Linked DNA regions of Homo sapiens: all the other regions are linked to region 4. The links are contacts of gene promoters, found by promoter capture Hi-C in blood cells and fetal thymus (Javierre and others, 2016). All regions are on one chromosome and are shown on one strand. Each heading gives the region's core, a stretch centred on a gene start or on the middle of the fragment in contact. The rest is flanking DNA. Distances are from core to core; before and after follow the strand shown. Region 1 overlaps CEP85L (centrosomal protein 85L). Region 2 overlaps CEP85L (centrosomal protein 85L). Region 3 overlaps CEP85L (centrosomal protein 85L). Region 4 holds the start of NUS1 (NUS1 dehydrodolichyl diphosphate synthase subunit).

Region 1 (4,303 bases), core at 1,114-3,613, 910 kb after region 4:
CTTAAAATCTGTTCTATCATTCTGAGGTGCTCTTGGCCTCTATTTTAAAATCAAATCAAATCAATCAAAAGGCATCTATCTGTCTGCTGGTTAGCTACACTTATCGTTGGCTGCTGTTCTAAAGACTCAGATGTGAGGCTTGCTGGTGAGAACATGGAGAACCCCCCAATACCCACAGGTGATTGGGAATGTTGGCCGTATTTCGAATCAGCTTCCTTTCATGGGGAGACCTCGCCGTTGCGCAAGGCTGGGAAAAGTTCTGAGGCAACTGAGCATCTCTGGGCAGGGCACACCCTGGTGTGACTCAAAGACCTCTGGACCAGACCCAGCCTCCAACAGCCCATTTCAGGTGCTGGCAGAGAATCCTCAGCTATCCGGTCATGAAACTTTCCTTCCTTTTCTATCTGTGGTCTCTTACTCTGTGTGTATGTGTCAACTGTGTGGGAATTTAGTAACCGGGAGTTTAACTCAAGAATGCCATTGCAATCTCCTGAACAGAGGGTTCCTCCGGGACAGTGAGCCTCTCTCTCTCAGCCCCTTGGTCTGGAGAGCACACGGCATTTCCAGGTCTCTCTACCGCTTGTCTGAGGAGCACACAGTATTTCTAAGCCAACAGTGCCACCTAGAGGAAACAGAAATCCTCTACATGAGGCACTTTTTTTAATGCTAACACTGCAGCTTCCTTTTGCACTGCTAGAAATCAGGCTCTAAGCCTCTTCCAGGAATGGGAAAATTCTGCTTTCAACAGTTAGAAATTAAATGTCTTCCATAGCCAAATTTTAGTCTCAATATTGTCCCATCAGCAGGAAAACAGCCATTTGGTTCCTACATTTCTTTAAGTCACCTATTCTGTCTCCAACAGAGACAGTACTTAATTAGTAAGGGGATTTTAAGTCTGGAAGTTAACTGAAACCATTTTTCTAAGGGTAAATGCTTTAGCATGGGCCATAATAGCAGGATATAGAGTTCAATCTAGCATAACCCCTCCATTAAAGGGGCCTTCCCCAATTACACAGTTTTCCCTGAGATCCATTTTTTTTTAGGGAGGTACACAGGTCACACAAGTCTAGGAGGTCAAAGGGAAATAACAAGCAGAGGACTGGGACTACTTGGGTAAGTGTGACTAGGCCTCAAAAGTCTAGTTTCTCTGGTGCCATGGCTTGGAGGGTCACACCTACAGCCACAGGCGGCACATTTAACTGGGTGCCGGGACCCAGGAACCAGGGAGGGAGACTAGTTAGAGGAATGCCCCCTACTGTTTTCTTCTCCACCCTGAGTCATACACCAAAAGGAAGGAGACTAAAAGGACACTTTTATTCTCACTTCTCTTTCTAGATGGCCAACAGATCGTCTTCAGCATGCACTCCTCTGGAATGTATTTTAAAGCACTGGGACTCCTTCAACCCTGAGACTTTGAAAAAAAAGTGACTCATATTCTATTGCACAAGAGCATAGCCTTCTTACTATCTTGGGGACAGATAAACCTGGCCCGCTGCGGGGAGCCTTGATTTTAATATTATCCAACAGTTAGATCTTTTCTCCAAACAGAAGGGCAAATGGACTGAGATCCCCTATGTACAGACTTTCTTTGCCCTGTGAAACAGCCCAGACCTTTACAAGTTCTGTACAATTGACCCAGTTCTTTTAGCGGCCACAGGGAATCGTTCCCCAGAGCTAAAGCAGGTTCCAGAGGAGCAATCTGAAACAGCTATTGAATGTCCCAATCCTTCCAGTCCCCCTCCAATCATACTATCAGCTCCTCCAGCTCCACTATCTCCAGTATATCCTACTCTCCCCGCTTCATTCTTACCTCTGCAGGAAATGGCTGATAGGAATGGTGCCATGAGGGTTCAAGTTTCCTTCTCATTACAGGACCTTAAGCAAATAAACAGAGACTTGGCCCAATTTTCTGATGACTCCGATAAGTATATAGAAATTTTCCAAAATTTAACTCAGGTGTTTGATCTCACATAGAGGGATGTTATGTTGCTGCTAAGTCAGACCCTCACTGGGGCTGAAAAGCCAGCAGTTCCACAGGCAGCAGAAAAATATGGATATAAGCAACATGCCTCCTGTAGCAGACCAAGGAGAAAAAGAGGAGACAAGGAAGGTAAGGAAGAAGTGGAAACTCCATTCCCACTAGGAAGGGAAGCAGTTCCAGCGGACAACCCTGATTGGAACCCCAATAACGCAGGAAATGAATGGAAAAGGAAGCACTTCTTAAGGTCTATGTTAGAGGGCCTATGGAAGACCAGGGCCAAACCTCTCGATTACTCTAAACTATCTATGATAGACCAGATGAGAATCCCACAGCCTTTATGGAAAGGCTAAGAGAGGCACTAATAAAACACACCTCTTTATCATGATTCAGTCGAGGGACAGCTAATCCTGAAGGACAAGTTTATTACACAGTCAGCTCCCGATATTGGAAAGAAACTACAGAAACAAGCTATAGGACCAGATAGCACCCTAGAGAACCTCCTGAGAATAGCCACTTCAGTCATTTACAATACAGATCAGGAGGAGGCCCAAGAAAAGGAAAGGAAATATAAGTGAAGAACAGAGGCTCTAGTAGCAGCATTGCACGCTTGTAAAGTCCAGGATCCCTGAGGTGCATCTGCTAGCTGTTATCAATGTGGCAAGTCAGGGCATTTTAAGAGGGAATGCCCAGGCAGCAAGACGAAGCCACCTTGACCCTGTCCAGCCTGTGGCGGAGACCACTGGAGATGGATCTGCCCCCAGAGGCAGAGGTCGCTGGGTTCAGAACCAGTCTCATAGATGGTCCAGCAGGACTGACGGGTCCCGAGGCTTAAACCCCCGGCTCCAGCGACTCAGACTGCCATTACAGCACAGGAACCCTGAGTGATTCTGGAAATTGAAGGAAGGAAGGTAGATCTCCTTCTGGATACTGAAGCCAGTCTCTTGCTCCTCCTCTCTAATTCAGGCCTCCCCTCTTCCCAGAGCACAACCATAAGGGGTGTATCACGAAAAACTCTAACCCAATATTTTTCTCAACCCCTTTTGCAGATGGGGAGACTTACTATTTAAACATGCCTTTTTAATCACGCCTGAAAGTCCCACTCCTTTATTAGGTAGATATATTCTAGCTTGCATGGGGGCCTGCAGCATCTTTACAGCCCCAGGACAAACTCTATCTCCCCCTGATGGAAGCTAACATTAATGTGGAAGTGTGGGCAACTTAAGGAAGAATAGGTTGAGCTATAACCACTACGCCAGTCCAGATCTATCTTAAGGATCCCACTTCTTTTCCTAACCAGAGATATTATCCCTAAGGCCAGTGGCTAGGAAAGGGCTAGAAGCCATTATTAATAACCTAAAGATGCAGGGCCTCCTCAAACCCTGTAATAGCCCCTGCAACACCCCAATATTAGGAGCACAGAAACCCAATGGGGAATGAAGCCTGGTTCAGGACCTTCGCCTCATTAATGAAGCTGTAGTTCCAATCCATCCAGTGGTCCCTAATCCCTATACCCTGTTAACTCAAATACCTGAGGGAACTAAATGGTTTACAGTCCTAGATTTAAAGGATGCCTTTTTCTGTACACCGTTACATCCTGACTGTCAATACCGGTTTGCCTTCAAATATTCCTCCAGCCAGACGCCCAGTTAACACTGACGGTGCTGCCTCAGGGATTTTGAAATAGTCCTCATCTGTTTGGACAGGCACTGTCACAAGACCTCTCTGAGTTCTCTCAACCTTAAGTTAAGGTCTTGCAGTATGTTGATGATATTCTGCTATGTGCCCCAACTGAGGATGCTTTTCAGGAAGGCACTGAAGCTCTTCTCAATATGTTAGCTAACAGAGAATATAAAGTTTCAAAACCCAAGGCCCAGCTCTGCAAAACCTCAGTGAAGTACACCTAGGCTTAGTGCTGTCTGAGGGGACCAGAGCATTAGGGAAGGAGGGAGTTGAGAATATTTCTTCCTTTCCCCTCCCCAAAACCCTCAAGCAACTCAGAGGATTTTGGGGCATTACAGGATTTTGTAGACTATGGATACCTGGGTATGGTGAAATAGGCTGTCCATGATATAACCTCATAAAATAAACTCAAGGAACTAAAACTCATCTTTTAACCTGGGAATCTGAAGCTCAAAAGGCCTTTGACCAGCTAAAGCAAGCCTTGCTTAAGGCACCAACTTTCACCCTTCCTATAGGGAAGGACTTCAATCTGTATGTATCAGAAAAGAAGGGAATGGCCCTGGGAGTATTAACACAGGCCCAAAGACCAGGCCAACAGCCAGTGGGTTGCCTAAGTAAGGAACTTGAGTTGGTGGCTAAAGG
Region 2 (4,514 bases), core at 1-2,500, 880 kb after region 4:
CCTCTAGATCTGCAGCTTGCCACATCAGCTTAAAATCTGTCATCCCATGCAGACAGGAAAACAATATTGTATAACAGACCACTTCCTGAGTAGAAGAGTTTCTTTGTGAAAAGGTCAAGATTAAGACTAAAACTTATTGTTACCATATGTATTCATCTGTTGGATCTTGTAAACATGAAAAGGGCTTTATTTTCAAAAATTAACTTCAAAATAAGTGTATAAAATGCAACTGTTGATTTCCTCAACATGGCTCACAAATTTCTATCCCAAATCTTTTCTGAAGATGAAGAGTTTAGTTTTAAAACTGCACTGCCAACAAGTTCACTTCATATATAAAGCATTATTTTTACTCTTTTGAGGTGAATATAATTTATATTACAATGTAAAAGCTTCTTTAATACTAAGTATTTTTCAGGTCTTCACCAAGTATCAAAGTAATAACACAAATGAAGTGTCATTATTCAAAATAGTCCACTGACTCCTCACATCTGTTATCTTATTATAAAGAACTATTTGTAGTAACTATCAGAATCTACATTCTAAAACAGAAATTGTATTTTTTCTATGCCACATTAACATCTTTTAAAGTTGATGAGAATCAAGTATGGAAAAGTAAGGCCATACTCTTACATAATAAAATTCCTTTTAAGTAATTTTTTCAAAGAATCACAGAATTCTAGTACATGTAGGTAAATCATAAATCTGTTCTAAGACATATGATCAACAGATGAGAACTGGTGGTTAATATGTGACAGTGAGATTAGTCATATCACTAATATACTAACAACAGAATCTAATCTTCATTTAAGGCACTGTAGTGAATTATCTGAGCTAGAGTTACCTAGCTTACCATACTATATCTTTGGAATCATGAAACCTTAAGACTTCAGAATGATTTTGCAGGTTGTCTTCCATTCCAGCCTAACATCCAATGCAGGCAAGGAAAATAAAAGATTTCCAGTGACAGAAAAATATATTATCTCAAGTATTTTTTAAAAATATATGAATTCTCTCTCCAAATATTAACTAATTATTAGATTATATTTTGAAATGAACTTGTTGGCCCATCTATTACATCTACAGCTGACCCTTGAACATGGGGGTTAGGGGAGCTGACAATTCGTGGGTCCGCAAAATCTTAACTACCTAATAGCCTACTATTGACCATAAACCTTACTGATAACATAAACAGTAAATTAACACATATTTTGCGTGTTATATGTATTATACACTATATTCCTACAATAAAGTAAGCTAGAGAAAATGTTATTTAGAAAATCATAAGAAAGAGAAAATATATTTACTATTCATTAAATGGAAGTGGGTCAACATAAAAGTCTTCATTCTCATTGTCTTCACATTGAGTAGGCAGAGGAGGAGAAAGATGGGGAGGAAGAGAAGGCGTTGGTCTTGCAGTCTTGTCTTAGGGGTGTGGGGAGTGGGGGAAAGAATATTCATGTATAAGTGGACCCTTGCAATTCAAGCCCTTGTTGTTCAAGGGTCAACTGTAATAGGATATAGCTATTTTTCTTCCTCTATCAACCAAATGGTAAGCATCTATTTTGCAGTCCACTCTACTGAGCTAAATTATAGATCCAGCTATGCTATTTATAATTATTTTCTTGATGAATAAATTTTCAATTTCTCCTCTGACCATTTCAGAACATCTTCCAATAACTCATAAAACAACTGAAGTAAAATTGAGTGCTGGAAAATATATTCACCAAACTTTGGTAATTTAAGTTGACTAAAGTTTAAAATTAAGTCTAAAATAGTTTACACCTATACTGCATAATCCAACAATTTTAATTTCAGTTGAAGACATGTTACTAATATAACTATTATTAAAAGAGTAGAGGATGTGTAATTAACCATATCTTCTAAAACATGGTTACTAAAAGAATATGTAACATCAATATTGACCTTGGTTTCTTACACAAGTGTTGCTAACTCAATAGTGAAGGAGACACTATTAAATTTTCTGAACCCATGAGAGATACTAGAGATGGGGAGTGGAAAGTGTTTGGTTCAGGGATATCTGAAGAACAGAAGGGCAGAGATTTCTTAAGTGACGCCTCATCTACAAGCTGGAAATTCCTAAAAACAAGTAGAAAGCTTATAAACAACAGGTGATACACTCACCTCACTGGTTTTAGTAAATTACCAATACAGAAAGTATCCCTAGTCTTAAAAACAAGTGGAAAATTTGAACTGATTAGTCATATTCCTTTGATTACACTGTTTGTTACAATATTTTTCTCAGTAAACAGAAATAACTAATTTTTTTGTTCTTCATTCTTTGATAGAAATTAAAATCTTATTCTGTGAGGATTACAGAATACTATAACTCAAATTATAAAGTAGAATAAACTCTTTAAATAATTATTCTTCATCATAAAGTGTAAAGAATAAGATATAAGAAAACAATTTATTTTTAAAATTTAATATACTAAATGCTCAAATATGTTCTACTATAGAATAAGTTCTTATCTTAATTTACAGGGCACTAAAAACAATTTTAAAATGCTTAATGTTGCCTTTTATATTTTAATTGGTTAAGAATATATATTTGTTTAATGCAAATCAGAATCACTATATTAAAATGAATGTTCTTGAAAACTCAGTGGGGCTGCTCTATAATACACTTACAATTGATACTAACGATAAAACGCTCTAATTATAGTTTTAATTTTATAGGGGTTTTTTTGGTGACTTTCCCCAAATAAAACAAAATCAAGACGCCCAAGTCCAGACACACAAGAGGGCAGACGTATATAAGATAACAAATTGCTACTACATAGCGATTATTTATCTTTTGATTATTTTTGAGACTTCTGGCAAAGTAGGACTATAATAAATTTTCAGAAAAGATCTGCTCTTCTGCTAAGTAACAGCACACTTCAAAATGTCCAGAAATTTTATGCTAATATTACATAGAAAACTTGACAGATGAAAAAAGTGAAACACATTACTAATTTTATTCATTAAAACAGGTATATAAAAGTCCTCTTTAACTACCTAATGAATGTGTCATATCCTAATATAGGGAGTGTCATAGTGTTCACATCTTTGAATATATAAATTATCTCAAACAGTTAAAAAATTAAAGCCAGAACAGGGTACAAAAATAAGAATAAAAATAAGAAAACTTTCTGTTCACAGGACGTAACAGAATACTTTAAACACTCTCAAGTTATAAATAAAACTTTTTCATTATTATTTCATGTTAGACAAAAAACAAGTCATTTTACTTTAACTCATTTTATCAATTTTTTTTTTTTAAATCAAGAGACAGGGTGTTACTCTGTCATGCAGGCTGGAATGCAGTCACATGATCATTGCACACTGCAGCCTTGAACTCTTGGGGTGCAAAGGATTCTCCAACCTTGGTTCCCAAGTAGCTGGCACTACAGGGGCACATCACCATATATGGCTAATTCTTTTTATTTTTTGTAGAGATGGGGTCTCATTGCCCAGGCTGGTCCCAAACTCCTATCCTCAAGCTATCCACCCCCCATCAGCCTCCCAAAGTGTTGGGATTACAGGGGTGAGCTACCATGCTTGGTCCAAATTTTTTGTTTATACAAGGGAAAATCTCCAGTAAAATATGTATAGGTGCCAATACCATAACTGTTCAAACACCCTTATGACTAAATAGGCACAAAATTTCATCTTTTTAATGACTGCCACCTGAAGTTCAGAAACATCCTAGGGAAAAAAGGATAAACAACTTCATCAATAAAGAGGCTACTATTATTTCACTACTGTCTGGGAGATCCATCGTGGGCTTACAGGAATCCAAATGGATACTGCCGTTACGTGTAGAAGTGTTTATCCTCCATCCCTTCCACCCTACCTTCCCCAAGAAAAGGAACTCAAGGGGGCCATGGAAAGGGAAGGAGTCTTCCCAAAAAGACCAGACTGTTTTTCCTCCTCTGTCATAGTCCCTATAGAGTCAGGCAGCTTAGGGGTTGCAGGGGGTGGGTAGCATAAGTGTGATGTACTACCGAGGAAAGAGTCAAAGACTAGCAGTAGGCATTACACATGGAGCCTTCTGTCATAAACCATCTGAGGGCATAATGGCTTCTTTTCATTCACAAAGGAAAATGATTCAGAGTACTACACTCCTGCACTCTTGATGATTTAGCAGAAAACCATGGAAATCAAGGAACAACACACACATAAGAATGTGTGTCTGGCTCAATAATTATTCTGGACTAAGTCCTAGGAAGAGCAAACCTTCAATGTTACAAATTAACCTGGGGAGTGGGGAGCTGTGAGAATCAAATGAGATAAAATACTGTGAAAGCTACAGAATTCTATAACATATAAATCTAAGGTTTTATTAGATTATGACTTTCAGCCAAATTCCTTTTCTTAGTTGTAAAAATATTGTTTTTTCATGGTGAGTGTTTAGGAGTTGTGCTTGCAAATCACAATTTATCAGACGGCCTGGTCCTTATTAAGGTTCTTCTCTTTATGTAAAAATTAGACTAAAAGAAAATCAGTGTTTC
Region 3 (4,262 bases), core at 137-2,636, 960 kb after region 4:
GTTCAAGAGTTTAAGACCAGCCTGGAAAACATGGCAAAAGCCCATCTCTACAAAAGAAAAAAAAAAAAAAATTCAAAAAAATGCCTCTGTGCATGGTGGCACATGCCTGTAGTCTCAGCTACCTGGGAAGCTAAGCTACTTGAACCCAGGAGGTGGAGGCTGCAGTAAGCCGAGATCATGCCACTACACTCCAGCCTGGGTAATAAAGCAAGACTGTCTCAAAAAAAAAAAAAAAAAAAAAAAGTTGTCTATATATTTAAGAAGTTAAAGGCAAACACTAAAAATATTTGCAGATATGGTATTAATGCATAATTATAAAGAGATCATAAGCAAACTAAAAATAAATAAATAAATACTAAATGGTTTAGTCTAAATGGACAAAGGACAAACCCCAAAGGGAAAAACACAAATAAAAAATTCTGAAAAATAGTCCAAGCCCACTGGTAAGCAAGTAGTATCAAATTCAGAAGACATGCTATTTTTCAGCTATCAATCTAGCAAAAATGTTAAAAGAACAAAACAACAGTGTTCCTAGATACTCCCATACACTGATAATGGTAATGTTAATTTATTCATTACAAAAACACAACCTTTTGATAGGCTATTAGGCAATATACATCATGTGTAGCACATGCCTGTAATACCAGCTACTCAGGAAGCCAAGGTAAGATTGCTTAAGCCCAGGAGTTCGAGACCAGCCTGGGCAACATAGTGAGACCGTCTCAAAAAAAAAAAAAGGAAAAGAATTAACTATATAAATTGATCTCCTCCCACCTGAACTAATTTGCCTTAACCTTTAAACATAACTATGTCTTTAAAAAGAAGATCTGGTATTGTATGTGCCTCAAACACTGAAGATGATTAACAAATGTCATGAAAATAACATTCTAATCTTTTAATTTAAACTGAAAAAATTCACAGTCTGAAAAGAATGACATGACTTGTCTTTAGACAAGTCAATCCAGAAGCACAATACAGGAAGAAGTACATGTGAAATATGCTGACCAGGTGATTTAATAAGGAAAATTTTCTCACAGAATAGTTACAAGACTATGTTACTGAAATGGGAATATTGATATCTAGTATGCAATATGCACTTAAAAACTCAAAATAAGGCTGAATAACCTCTGGCAATAATGTCTTACCTAAAGACAAAAGGACTGCTGTAAGAACAGCAAAGATCCCAAGAAACTCTACATTGGAACTCCTCCTTGGAAGACAATATGTTACATTTTTCAATACTAATTTTTTAATACTAATTTTAATTATTTTAATAGAATACTGAGTGCCTGCGGATAACATTAAAAATTCTGAATATTTCTCAGACAGGAAGATTAGCATTAAATAAAAAAGCAACCTATTTTACTTCTGAAGCTCTTTTATTGGAAGCAAAAATGCATACAGTATCAAGTATTCCACAGCATTTGAATATATATGTAACTGCACTGAGAACAAGAACTACTCTCATTGAATATTTTAATGACAGCTCTAAATTGAAGAAAATAAAAATAACACTACTGACAAAGCAGATTTATACTTTTAAATAAGCTGAATACATAATACAAATCGAGAATACAAATTGCAATGTTTTTCAGAATGCAGATTATCTGTCACCCATTAGTATGTTTTAAAATCAACTTGGAAACCAACACTTTCAAATAAAATAGTAGATAAAGCATGTTTACCCTTATATTACATAAGTAGCACGCGGTTCACATTTTAACATCTCTGAAATATTAACAAGTACTTTTGCACAAAGAACCTATTCTGCTGCTGGAATAACTCCACTCAAGCCAGCCTCTACTCTACTATCTTCTAGAATCAAGCATGTTTATGTTATTCTTCTACTTACATAGATCTGTGAGCCCCTTACGGCATATTAAATAAATTCAAACTCCTTAAGTTAGGCAAAGTTCTTCACCAATTGTCAGCTTCACTTTGCAACTTCTACCTACAAAAACTATCTAGCCACACTTACCTAATCACTTCCTCCAAACAGATGAGACTCTTTCATGACTCCAAGCTGTTTCACTTCTGCACCTTAAGAGTCCTAGTTCAGAATTAACTTGTTCTGTCTTCCCTGATTCCTCCAGGTGGCATTAAATACTTTGTTCACTCCCAATATATTATTCAAAATTCCAACAACATTTAATAAATTATATTAACCCATATGTATATGACTTTCTTCTCCCTCACCAAACTGTGAAAAATGAAAGGCAACTTTTTTTAGTGTCCAGTACCTAGCAAAGAGCTGCACACTTATACAGGGTCTCAATAAATGTAGTCATTATAACCACTGGATACCTAACAAATGTTCACAGAATAAAATTAGAATTTTGGAAGCCTTACAATTACAACTACAAAAATATCTTTGTGTTCAGAAAAAGGATTCAAACAAGCGTTTTGTTTGGTGGTTGTTGTCTGCTTATTTTAAAATCCAGGATATTTTAAACTATCCCTTGAGCCAGTATGCATTTAAGTATCTATTTAGAGATCAGTAAATATTTATCAATGCAGCTTTTTTTAAGGTAATTTTAAATAATTTAGAGATCTGATGGCCAACATTCCTAACATGGGAAAACAGTCTCCAATAGGTTAAAAAGACACAAAACTCACACAAAAAATTAGAACATTAAACGGTAAGAAAAAAACGTTCATATTAACAGTAGCCAAACAGAAAAAACCAACAAATCTGGAACTACACTGCAGAATATCTAGCTAAGATGACAGAAACATCACATAGTGTTATTTTCTCCATCCCAATCCTCCACTCCATTTCAGTACTATTTATCTCTAGGGTAAGTGACTCCAATAGTCTTAGTTTGTTTCTTTTATCACAGAATTACCAGTATAGCTCAGTGTGCACTGTGAAACCAGGCTACCTGGGTTCAAGTTCATTCTACCTCTTATTAGCAGTAAGTCCTCATAAATCACTTAACCTCTCTGTGCCTCAATTTCTTCATATGTAAGAGAAGAAAAAAATTATAGAATAGTACCTATATTATAGGGTTGTTGTGATCAATGAACATGTAAAGTTTTTTGTTGTTGTTATTGTTTTTGAGACAGAGCCTCTCTCAGTTGCCCAGGATGGAGTGCAGTAGTGCAGTCTCGGCTCACTGCAACATTCATCCCCCAGGTTCAAGAGATTCTCCTGCCTCAGCCTCCCAAGTTGTGCGGATTACAGGCACACACCACCATGTCTGGCTAATTTTTTAGGTTTTTTTTAAGTAGAGATGGGGTTTCGCCATGTTGGCCAGGCTGGTCTCGAACTCCTGACCTCAAGTGATCCGCCTGCTCAGCCTCCCAAAGTACTGGGATTACAGGCGTGAGCCACTGCACCTGGCCTGTAAATATATTTTTGAAAGTGCCAGACATATAATTAGGATCTCAATAAATGTTATTATTTTTATTACTGTCCATGCATAGAAATTTTCCAGAAGGATAACTAAAAACTATTAAAAATGGAGTGGAGGACTGACATGAAAGGTAGATAAAAAAGCTTACTTCACTTTAAGCTTTTCTGTACTGAGTCAACATTTTACTGAGCATGTGTAACTTTAATAATGAGAAGAAAAAAATCATCTGACAAATACCACATAACAATAATTCTTCTGCTCCTCATGAGGTACAGTACCCCACTCTCTTCCAAGTTTTTAACCTTGCTCTTTTCCCTCCCTATTTAATCAAGGACATCTACACTGTCACCAGCTTCTCTCTTAATATCTTACTAGCATGTTTACAACTACTTATCTCCTTCAAAACACAAACCCAATGCCCATCTCTCTGATAACCACCACTTTTTTAACATCATTCCAAGAGATTAAGCATAAGCTTTCTATCTCTATGATCTGCAAAGTGAATACATGCATGCCAGGGAGTACACGAGCCAATCCACTGGCAAGCTGCTGGAAGAAAAAAACTTGTTTATACTGAAAATTATCTTTAGGAAAAAGTAATGCATTAAATTTTGCTATAATATTTAACATACAGGTTAACACTAGTGCCCTTACTTGGATTATCAGAGCATTATGTTACATATATATAACATAAACGGAGGTGCTCTATACAGAGGGCTTGACGGTGACATCCTCCTTTGTTCATTTGATTTTTTCGTATGGGTATGCATTGCAGTTCATGGCTGGTTAAGCAGATTTGCATATCGATAACATTAGGTAGTTTTACTTAAACTAGCCCTCACAAAATGGATTTGTGGCTCTATATTACTGCAAAGAAACCTGAAGTTGAAAAACCTGAAGATAATA
Region 4 (4,177 bases), core at 1,107-3,606:
AACACATTCTACAGTTATTCTCGAGAACTACAAGTGAGAAAAGGGGAAGAACTGTGTTGGTTCAAGGCCCCCAGAGAACTGTTCTGTATGAGACCCTCCATCCCTAGCCTACTGACAGCTGACAGAGAAGAAAAGTGGGTACCGCCGCCCCACCACTCTTTAGGAGGCTGAACATCCTGGGAGCTAGGGGACCTGCTACTAGGAGGAAACTCTAGGAGGAAAGCAAGCAAATGTCTGGGGAGAGACGCCAGGATCTGCATGTGAGTGTGTCAGATGGACATGTGGCTAGAATCCTTTTGCTTAAGTTTGCAATTCAAAGAAATACAGGGGCCGGACGCAGTGGCTCACGCCTGTAATCCCAGCACTTTGGGAGGCCAAGGCGGGCGGATCACCTGAGGTCAGGAGTTCAAGACCAACATGGTGAAACCCCGCCTCTACTAAAAACACACAAAAAATTAGCCGGGCGTAGTGGCGGGCACCTGTAGTCCCAGCTATTCGGGAGGCTGAGGCAGGAGAACGGCGTGAACCCGGGAGGCGGAGCCTGCAGTGAGCTGAGATCGCACCACTGCCCTCCAGCCTGGGCGACTGAGCGAGACTCCGTTTCAAAAAAAAAGGAAAAAAGAAATACAGAAGATAGAGCCTGTTTGTGCCTGCACACCTGAGAGCAGGCCACGGGAACATGAGATTGATGTCTTTAATCTTGTCAGAACGGATAGACATTGGGGCAAAGAAATGAGTACGGTAGAGAAATGTGGCAACATAGTCGGCATGGGGGGTGGGGTGGGGTCTGCAGAATACGTGGCCAAATCTCAATGGGACACTGGTGTCTAGGGAGCTTCCTTAACAAGCATCATGTAGCTGCATAAACTACAGCAATGGGCAGTGAGGAAGAAGACTGTAGGCTTCCCTGATCATGGCCTTTCGCCTCTCCTTCTTTGTCCATCATCAGAGGAGCTACCGCAGAGGAGACCTGGAGAGAAAGAAGTGTGTGAAGGGTGTGCCTGGTGCCCAGCCCTCAGTTCTTCAGGCTGCACTGCCAAAGGGAGGAAAATTGCACTGCGAAAGGGAGATGGACATGAGATTCAACTTTTAAAGTAAAGTTAAATGAGTCTTAGAAACCAAAATGAGACTAGTTGAAAAAGTGACAATGTTAGAAAAATTAAGTCACATAGCCAAGACGTGAACAGATGTTTCCCAGGGGGAAAAAGAGGCTTTAGCGAACAAAGAATAGGTAGGTATTACAAAAACGCAACTGTTTACACACACACACGTGTGTAAATATGTGTGTATACGTGTGTATGTGTACAGTTGCATTTTTGTAATACCTCCCTAATCTTTATATATATACTTATATAAATATAAATGCAAATAATATAAATATTATTGTTGCACACACACATATATATGATGATAGAGGATGTAGCATGTAGGATAAACCTTGAGAAATGGGTTGGAATGTCGGCAATACCAAGTCGGGAATCAGGAATTCAGGAGAAGAGCTTGAACAAAAAGGGCAAAGACAGTACAGACTTACCGCGGGGAAGTACAAAACCATTCTAGAGGACCACGTCGAAGTCCACATGGACAGAAACATTAGGGTGTTAAAGGGGATGATAAGGCTTGGATGGGCAGTTTGCTTCAAATAGTGGCGGTCATTGAAGTCAGGCACAATTTCTATTTTTTTTCCCCACTGTAAACCTAACCCACGGCGGTTGGTCAAAGTCTTGCCGAATAAAAAAAAAAAAAAAAAAAAAGAATTAAGTGACTGGACTGCCAAGCTGTAGAGCCTCTATTAAGCAATGTACAGCCAGGAAAGGATACCTTAGATGAGAATGACATGGGTAGAGGGGTGTTTCAGGAACATGGCTAAAGAGCCTCGCTCCCAGCCTCAGCCGGGAGGCTGAATAAAGGACAGTAGCAGGATCACTCCAGCCTTTGAGGACACTTTTGGAAACCCTGGTGGATTCCCAGCATCAACACTTACTGAGGGCTGCTTTCCATCCCTAGGTTCTTTCCGGCATTTGTAATTTCCAATCCACTTAGGACACTTCTACTCCTCAGAAACCGTTTCTGTCGGGGCCGTGAGAGGAGACAGTATAAGACTTCCTGGACCCAAGGGACGCCGGGTCCCCTGGAAGCGCCCATCGCATTGAAGACCACGTGTGCCTTGCTGGGGTCCCATTCAGACAAGTCCCGGGTCGTTCGCTCATCGCCCTCCACGCGACCAGGGGGCGCCCGCGGTATCGGCCCGGCTAGTTCGCAGGCGTGCGCCTTCCCTCACTGCGCCGGAACGGGCCACGTTCTCGGACCCAGAAGCCGCGTCAGAATTCCACGCTGGCCAATCGGAACTGTCCATGTACTACTGGGGGCGGGGCTGCCAAGGGAGGAGGAAGATGGCGGCGGGGGCGAGGTGAGGTGTTGGCAGTGGAAAGGGGTTCGGGCTCGGGGGGCGGGGGGACGCGGAGCGATGGCCCGCGCCGGCCGCAGGGGCGGATAAAAAGCCGTCGCGCTGCGGGAGTGGGCGGGAGGGAGAGGGGGTGTCTGAGGGCCACAAGAGTATGACGGGGCTGTACGAGCTGGTGTGGCGGGTGCTGCACGCGCTGCTCTGTCTGCACCGCACGCTCACCTCCTGGCTCCGCGTTCGGTTCGGCACCTGGAACTGGATCTGGCGGCGCTGCTGCCGCGCCGCCTCTGCCGCGGTCCTAGCGCCGCTCGGCTTCACGCTCCGCAAGCCCCCGGCAGTCGGCAGGAACCGCCGTCACCACCGGCACCCGCGCGGGGGGTCGTGCCTGGCAGCCGCACACCACCGGATGCGCTGGCGCGCGGACGGTCGTTCCTTGGAGAAGCTGCCTGTGCATATGGGCCTGGTGATCACCGAGGTGGAGCAGGAACCCAGCTTCTCGGACATCGCGAGCCTCGTGGTGTGGTGTATGGCCGTGGGCATCTCCTACATTAGCGTCTACGACCACCAAGGTGAGGCCCGGTGCGGTGGTGGGGGGTGGCCGAGGCGTCTTGGACCGCTAGACCGCTGGTCTGGCGGGTGGTGCCCATGGCACGAGTTGCCGCGGCCTCTCTGCAAATCACAGCGCTAGCGCTTTCGAGGAAGGGAGATCAGCTTTATTGAACACCTACTAATTCTCTGGATTTGACTCAGTAGCTTTTTAACATTTTAAAAATATCCCTTGGCCGGGCGCGGTGGCTCATGCCTGTAATCCCAGCACTTTGGGAGGCCGAGGCGGACGGATCACCTGAGGTCGGGAGTTCGAGACCAGCCTGACTAACATGGAGAAACCCCGTTTCTACTAAAAATACAAGTTTAGTCGGGCGTGGTGGCATATGCCTGTAATCCCAGCTACTAGGGAGGCTGAGGCAGGAGAATCGCTGGAACCCGGGAGGCGGAGGTTGTGGTGAGCCGAGATCGCGCCACTGCACTCCAGCCTGGGCAACAAGAGCGAAACTCTGTCTCAAATAAGTAAATAAATAAATAAAAATAAATAAAAAATCTCTTATTCGTTATAATACTGCAGTAATGTAGATGGTATTTGTATACCCTTGCCAAGGTTTAAAAACATTAACTGATTTGCCCAAGGCCACAAGATCGTAATGGGGCCACAAAGATCGGAATGAGGATATTGGAATTTTAGCCATTCTGTGCTTTTTCACAATCTTTGCCTTTGGTTACACCACACTGTTTCTTTAAGAGAGCTTCCAGGCGCTGTTCTTAAGTCGCAGTGAGGCTATAGAGGACTTAGGCATGGGCTGTGTGATAGGTACTGCAAATGGGAGCGGTGGGGGTCAGGTGGTATTTGAACTGGGTTTATGAAAAATATGTGAGAGATTGGATAGGCAGAAAAGAAAATGGTCCCTTTCTGTCTTGGAAGGCTGGGATGGTTTGTGATCCTTCATCATCAGTGCCCAACACAGTACTTGATAGAATTGTCCTCTCATATGTTTTGATTGAGGGAATGAATTTCACCATAGGGAGTTTTTGTAAGTACAAAAATTCAGTACTTATTGGGTAGCTACAAACCTAAAGCACTGTGCTAGGCATATTCCTTGGAATCTTGCATTTAATTCCATGGACTCTCAGGCTTGTTAGGAGGTAGGCACACACTCACATATTTGACATGGTTAATAACAAGAAGTGTTGAGAGTAAAATTACTATTGTGAGAAGAG

Evidence for each region. The method cuts DNA at HindIII sites, captures the fragments that hold promoters and counts their contacts. A CHiCAGO score of 5 or more calls a contact.
Region 1: a fragment that was not itself captured here is called in contact with the fragment with the promoter of NUS1 in region 4 in 1 of 17 cell types (monocytes); the score reaches 5.4 in monocytes.
Region 2: a contact is called between a fragment that was not itself captured here and the fragment with the promoter of NUS1 in region 4, in 6 of 17 cell types (total B cells, neutrophils, total CD4 T cells and 3 more). The highest score is 6.2, in total B cells.
Region 3: a contact is called between a fragment that was not itself captured here and the fragment with the promoter of NUS1 in region 4, in 1 of 17 cell types (monocytes). The highest score is 5.0, in monocytes.

The regions. Positions count from the first base shown.
Region 1 is chr6:118,580,394-118,584,696 of GRCh38, forward strand. The region is part of intron 2 of CEP85L (centrosomal protein 85L); the gene reads right to left. It overlaps LOC107986524 (a long non-coding RNA gene), which reads left to right. Exons shown (of 5, transcript XR_002956384.2): 5 at 1,336-1,905. Among named protein-coding and RNA genes, the nearest start is that of PLN, 34 kb to the left of the region's middle. The HindIII fragment of the contact is 5,821 bases long and covers 1-4,303 here.
Region 2 is chr6:118,559,094-118,563,607 of GRCh38, forward strand. The region is part of intron 3 of CEP85L (centrosomal protein 85L); the gene reads right to left. It overlaps PLN (phospholamban), which reads left to right. Exons shown (of 2, transcript NM_002667.5): 2 at 1-2,623. Among named protein-coding and RNA genes, the nearest start is that of PLN, 13 kb to the left of the region's middle. The HindIII fragment of the contact is 1,726 bases long and covers 388-2,113 here.
Region 3 is chr6:118,637,484-118,641,745 of GRCh38, forward strand. All of the region lies in intron 1 of CEP85L (centrosomal protein 85L), which reads right to left. Among named protein-coding and RNA genes, the nearest start is that of CEP85L, 12 kb to the right of the region's middle. The HindIII fragment of the contact is 4,221 bases long and covers 1-3,497 here.
Region 4 is chr6:117,673,113-117,677,289 of GRCh38, forward strand. NUS1 (NUS1 dehydrodolichyl diphosphate synthase subunit) reads left to right here and starts at 2,357. Exons shown (of 5, transcript NM_138459.5): 1 at 2,357-2,973. The coding sequence starts at 2,559. LOC101927919 (a long non-coding RNA gene) reads right to left here and starts at 2,172. Exons shown (of 3, transcript NR_110854.1): 1 at 1,985-2,172; 2 at 1,535-1,723; 3 at 1-970. The HindIII fragment of the contact is 6,476 bases long and covers 1-4,177 here.